Regions from separate parts of the Homo sapiens genome. Here region 2 is linked to region 1. Evidence: promoter capture Hi-C in 16 types of primary human blood cells and fetal thymus (Javierre and others, 2016). All regions are on one chromosome and are shown on one strand. Each heading gives the region's core, a stretch centred on a gene start or on the middle of the fragment in contact. The rest is flanking DNA. Distances are from core to core; before and after follow the strand shown.

What was found. The method cuts DNA at HindIII sites, captures the fragments that hold promoters and counts their contacts. A CHiCAGO score of 5 or more calls a contact.
Region 2: a contact is called between a fragment that was not itself captured here and the fragment with the promoter of GPR45 in region 1, in 8 of 17 cell types (total B cells, megakaryocytes, naive B cells and 5 more). The highest score is 8.3, in total B cells.

Annotation. Positions count from the first base shown.
Region 1 is chr2:105,240,404-105,243,594 of GRCh38, reverse strand. GPR45 (G protein-coupled receptor 45) reads right to left here and starts at 1,852. Exons shown (of 1, transcript NM_007227.3): 1 at 128-1,852. The coding sequence starts at 1,736. The coding sequence ends at 618. The HindIII fragment of the contact is 10,787 bases long and covers 1-2,063 here.
Region 2 is chr2:105,096,835-105,100,108 of GRCh38, reverse strand. MRPS9 (mitochondrial ribosomal protein S9) reads right to left here. Exons shown (of 11, transcript NM_182640.3): 10 at 2,785-2,954; 11 at 149-439. The coding sequence ends at 348. It overlaps MRPS9-AS1 (MRPS9 antisense RNA 1), which reads left to right. Exons shown (of 4, transcript NR_110227.1): 2 at 809-861; 3 at 1,847-1,910; 4 at 2,711-3,057. Among named protein-coding and RNA genes, the nearest start is that of MRPS9-AS1, 4.5 kb to the left of the region's middle. The HindIII fragment of the contact is 2,516 bases long and covers 721-3,236 here.

The DNA of each region.
Region 1 (3,191 bases), core at 603-3,102:
GGGAGCTCAAAGCACAGAGGCTCACTCTGCTTCCCCGTGTGATTTTGGTTTCTTTCTAGAAAAGATACTTAGGCATGGGAAGAAATGCACATCTGATCAACATAAAGAACCTCATGTGAGTCCCCACACACCACAAACATCAATAGCTGAAGAACCCTGGTGTCAAACAAAATGAATGAACACCCAGGAGCTCACACCTACTGGGGTTTCTCAGGGTTTCTCTTGAGCAGGTGCAGAGAGGGCTCGCAGGGCAGGTTGAAGCTCTTGTGACTGACCAGTCCTCCTGCCCCACACTCAACCAGCTTCATTCCCTGTTGCCCTCCTCCTCCCTTTCTGCCCAACTTCTGCACTCCCCAGCCCACTCCATTTTTGACTTAATGACGTTGCAGTTCCCATCAGCCCCATATTTGGCTCTCTGCAAAGAGAAACAAAAATAATTCATCGTGCCAAAATTTGAAATTTGGGAGCTGCAGCTCATCTGATTACAAATGAGTACCTTTGTGCTTAAATTGCCACCACAAAGTGCAGACTATGACCAACATGCCAGGGAACAGAGCAGGACAGATCCACCCTGGGACTGGGGCTCAGCTGCCCCTTCTCTGTGGCCCCCTGACCCCCTAAACCGCAGACTGGTTTTCATTGCACACGTAGACTGTGCTTGGCTGGATTCTCCTTCGGATCCGCTCAGGCACTTTGGGGAGGATTTGGAAGGTCTGGGGCAGCAACTCTATGCAGGCCTCGCGGAATTTTTTGATTCTCCAGCAGTAGACGATGGGGTTGAAGACGGACTTGAGGTAACTGAGCCACAGGACGCAGGTGCTGGTGGCGTAGAAGGAGGAACCGCAGTAAAAGCGCTGGCTAAACACAGACAGGAGGCTGTAGACGGAGTGGGGCAGCCAGCAGAGGGAGAAGCCCACGAAGAGGATCAGGATGGTGGTGAAGGCCTTGGTCTTGAAGCTCAAGTCCACGCTGACCTGTTGCTGCCGCTGCAGGCGCCGCAGGCCCGCCCTGGTGAGCTGCCGCAGGTCCAGGCTGTCCGACTGGTTGTGCACGCGCACGGCGTTCTTGCGGACCGTGTTGAGGATGCACATGTAGGCGCACAGCATGACGCCAAAGGGCGCGAAGAACACGGCCACCACCAAGGTGACCACGTAGGCGCGGTCAGCGGGGAGCTCCGTGTAGCCCAGCACGCACTGTGGGGCCCGCGCCGGCACCTCCACCAGCGTCCAGCCCGTGAGCGAGGGCCCCGCGATGCAGAAGGACAGCACCCAGGAGACCGCGATGATCACCTTGGCCCTGCGCGGGTTCAGCTTGTCCTGGCGCTGGACGATGATGAGGAAGCGGTCCACGCTGATGATGAGCAGGATGGCCACGCCCTCCAGGACAAAAAACCAGTAGAGCGTGGCTGAGAGGCGGCAGAAGTGGTCCCCAAAGTGCCAGCGCACGGTGATGAGGGTGACGGCGGTGAAGGGCATGCAGCAGAGGGACAGCATGATGTCGGAGAAGGCCAGGGTGGCCAGCAGCAGGTTGATGGCCGAGCGCATAGCCGGCCTCTGGTACACGATGATGCAGACCACAGTGTTGCCCAGGAACCCCACCACGGTCATCAGCAGCATCACTATGGCCAAGGAGATCCTGAGGGGTGCGGGCAACTGGGTGGACCCCGAGTCTGAGGCGTTGCTGGTGTTCAGCAGCAGGTATGTGTAAGCCTCAAGGGACGTGCTGTTGCAGGCCATCGTGGAGAGACCCTTGGAGCTGGGACAGAAATGGCCGGGAGGGCTCCCCTCAGCACTTGGGTGGCTGCCATTCTTTGTCTGCTGGCTGCATCTTCCTGGATGTCTGTGGACCTCTGGGGCACTGGAATGGTCTTGGGGAGAAATGTCCGTCTTTGTGAGCACTAGCTGGGATTTGCGATTCATGGATCACATCCTAAGCATCTCTGTGGAGAGCGACTCTGTGCACAGCTTCGTGCTTGGACCCTCTGTAGTGGACAGCAAGCAAAAGTACAAAAGAGAAGGGGGTTAGAGTTTCCAAACGCGTTGAAGAAAGCACGCGTTTAAGCTTTACAGGTGTTTCTAAACAAGTTTATTTACCACGTGGGACAAAGCTTGATATTCACAAATACTGTCTGAGTCTTGTCAAGCAGCCCAGAAAAACCTAATCAGCTATCTTCTGAGGAAACTGAGGAAGTACACTTTGTAGTTAGTGTTTATGTAATAACTTGAGTTTTCAGCAACCTGTCGGAATGAAGCCTTGGTCTAGCCAACTAACGTTAGAATCCTGCTCCACAAGAGAAAGGTTTTGCTTGTTTCATTCTCTGCTATCTCCCAGTACTGACAACAGTGGCTGGCATGCAGTAAGTGTCCTTGTTGAGGACACTTGGATGCTTGTTGAGTAGATGAATAAGTGATAGTTGATGCTGCTGCTATAATATTTGTTTAGCTTTAAAAAACCCCACTTCATCGAGGAATGACTGACATGTCAAAAGCTGTACAAATTTACATCTCAATATACCAGAAACCCATCACCACCAAGGCCAAAAACATATCCCACTCCCCCTGCCAAAGCTCTCTCCTGCCATTTTTCTAGTATTATCATTTTGTTTTGGTGGTAAGAATACTTCACCTAAGATCTGCCCTCTTAGCAAATTTTAAGTATACATTTTTAAGTTTTAATTTTTTAAAAGAAATTGTAAGTCTGTTTGTTTAACTTTATTTGATAAGTGTAAATTCACATGGATAAGTGTAAATTCACATGGAGTTATAATAATAAATACTATGGTGAAATTCTGTGTGTCCTTCACCCAGTTTTCCCTAATGGTAACATCTTGGATAACTGTGGGGCTGCTATACTATTACTTCTGGAAGCACAGACTGGGAGAAGGGAACTTTCCCCAAAGGTAAGGCCTTTTAAAATACAATGTTAGCTGGGTGCAGTGGCTCATGCCTATAATCCCAGCACTTTGAGAGGCAGAGACAGGAGGATTGCTTGAGGCCAGGAGTTCAAGACCTGCCTGGGCAACATAGAGAGATCCCATCTCTACACACACAAAAAAATGAGCCAGGCTTCCATCTATAGTCCCTGCTACTCAGGAGGCCGAGGCAGGAGGATTGCTCAAGCACAGAAGTTCGAGGCTGTCGTGAGCTAAGAAGGTGTCACTGTACTCCAGCCTGGGTAACAGAGTGAGACCC
Region 2 (3,274 bases), core at 729-3,228, 140 kb after region 1:
TCTGGGGGGCTAAGCCTTCTTGTCTGCAAAATGAGGTAACTTGACTATATTTTGCTGAATATTCCTTTCAGGTCTAATATGCCAGATTCTATGAATTATGCTTCTTAAAACTATATTCTGAAAAAGTTAAAAAAATAAAGCGGCAGAATGAAACTAACATTCTTTATTTTCCTTTTATTTTTTAAAGGTCACCTTTACAAAGTAGCATTTAAAAATAAATCCATCTCACAGCTCAAAGAAATTTCTGACAGTACTGCCCTCATGCTGGTCAGCCATTATTTACTGTGTGTCTGCCACATGTCGGCACATATATATAGCTCTTCCTCTCCTTTCCTGGGAGCAAACCCTTAGCGTTTCTTCCACGTAAACTTTCTGCGGGCTCCCTCTTGGCCTGGCTTCTTCCGTTCCCTCACACGTGGATCAGTAGTAAGTAGTCCAGCTGCAGCATAAAAAGAGAAGCCTTTAGGAACCATTAATATGCATGCTGCCCAGAAGAAAAGCAGGTTCATAAATTTATAGGTACTGTTGTCTGAGAAAAAAAACTAGAGGAAAGCAACCAGACCAGTAATAATTTACCAGCCCAGTATCAACCTCATGATGGCAGTTTGCTTCCACTCTTTCAGGATATTTTTCCAACCTCTGAGACAAACACAAGTTACATTATTTAAACCTGCTTCCCTTAAATTATAAGAATCATGGCTCCCTTTTGGTTTTTAAGCTTGCTCAACCTAAGTGAGATAAAGCTCCTCTTGTGTGGGCGGTCACTATTCACTGTAAGGGAACTTAACCTGCACACTTACTATTGCAGAGGACAGAGTTTTAATGGAGACAAGAGGCAGAGAAGAAAAACTTACTGTAAAGGTGAAGTATGAGAAAGTACTTAGATACCATCTATTAACAGTTTACATGAATATGCATATACACACAAATATGACTTGTCAAACATTTAAAAAAGGAAACTTTCATTATTTTAATTTATGCCATAATAATATTCCCTGTTTTTTTGTTTTAGAATCTAAAAAATAAGTTTTAGAGTTGTATTCTCAGCACAGGCAGTTTCTTCTAGAAGAATAAAGTCAGTTTAAACGGGAAACTTTCATTCTCCCAATCATCAGGAGTGATTATGTTTCTAGGCAACTGCTGGGGTTACTCTTAGCTATGGCCCATAAGGAAGAGCCCCAGCAGTGGCTGGAGCTATAGTAAGTTAGTAAAGACCATAGATTCCAAGAATACCACTGATGGGAAAGCTCTTACATTGCTTTTATAAATATGTAAATGGACCATACTTTTTCCTTGTCTTTTTCACTCTTCCAACGTTAGCACTCCTCCTACTGTATACAAGGCTTGGGTATTTTATTAAGGACCATTTAATGTACATAGAGCAAAGGAAAACCTTGTTTATGATATACCCATAACATTTACACTTGCTTGTACTTAAAGGACATGCATGGAATAAAACAGCAGTATTTGACAAAATACAGAAAAGACCTAAGTTCTAGCTTCAACTGTAAGTAAGAATGCTTTATTACTTTCAGATATGCACAGTAGCTCAAACTCATCAAATTGTTAAGATTCTAGCAAATTACTTCAATGACTAGATATGAATCCCATATGATGACAAATTGCTTATAAGCAAATGGATTTTTAAGAGCCTTAAGCAATTAAGTAGCCTAAGCCATAGGTAGTGTTTTTATTGAACCTCAGCGGCTTGTACTAGAAGGTCTGGTGCACAGAGACCAACCTACTTGCCCAGAGGAGGAGCTTATAGACTTAGGTGCTAAGTGACTTGCCCACGACCATGCAGCCGCCAATAGCACACATGGTGCTTTCCTCTTCTCATCAACAGTGCGAAGATGGTCTTCAGCTCAAACTTCCCCAATTTATTCCAACTTCTAAAGCAGTAGTCTAAGGTAAGAATCAACTGCCCATCCTTTTTCACATTACACAGGGACTCTTGTATTCATGCCCAGGTAACAGGGTTACACAGAGTAGGGTAAAAGAAAATTCAAACACCACAATGGGAAAAAATGGAAACCTCCAATAACTTACAAAAACAAAATACCCAAAGAACTTTATCACTAACCAAATAATTATTACAAATTTCTATGACAGGCCAGGTGTGGTAGCTCATGCTACGTAATGTCAGTGCTTTGGGAGGCCAAGGCAGGATTGTTTGAGGCCAGGAGTTCGAGAACAGCCTGGGCAACATAGCAAAATGCAGTCTCTACAAAATATACAAAAATTATCCAGGTTTGGGAGTGTATGTCATAGTCCTAACTACCTGGGAGGCCGAGGCAGGAGGATTGCTCGAGCCCAGAAGTTTAAGGCTGCAGCTAGCTATGATAATACCACTGCACTCCAGCCTGGCTGACAGAGAGAGACTGTTTAAAAAACAAAAACAAAAAACCCACACATTTCTATGATAAAACAAAAACAAGCAATTTGTCTCTTAAATATAACTAAGCTAAGCACTTTGTTAAGCTGGATAAAAGGTTATGCATTAAGGCCAAAATTAACTTTTCCCTGACCTTGGAACTGAACATTTTAGCAGGGCTCAAATAATCAGTGTGGGGAGTTCTCCCCTTTTTCTAATTCAAGCTCACCTTGTAGAAATCAAATCTGAGAAATACTGTTATGGTTCTGTAGCAAGAAAGAAGACAGCGAAGTGAAATATTACATATGTAACTATATATTTTCTTACGAACTTCAGGCACTAGGACAAGAAGCAGATGAACATGTATAGCCAGTATTGGGCCACCATGCCCGTCCCACCTAGACTCATACCTTGTCTCATCCACTCGACCTCGTCCTCGGTGACAAAGCTGCACAAGGCTTTTGCCATTGCCAGTCGTATTGCTCCAGCCTGCGCTGACCTCCCGCCCCCTGAGACTGTGCAGGTCACGTCGTGCTTTCCCAGCCGGTCAACAAAGTGGAAAGGGAACATCAGCTGTTCTCTAAAGCACAGCACAAGTAAATGTGGTTACGTTTACTATAAAGATACATAATTATGTAAACAACTGAAATTCTGAATATTCATAAAAACAATATTCTGCATGCCACTGTTATACTTTTCATACTTCTCAATCAATCCATTTTACCAAGATATAGAAACACTAACATTTCTGACATTTTGAATGATTTGCTGAGAGATTAAGATTTATTTCTTTTGCTTGGGTATAGCAACACACTCTTACTGTTTGCTGATCCCCTTTATCTCAGAAGATCTTTTCAAAGCTTGAAAATAATCTCGTAAAGAAGTCTTACAGTTGGGGAA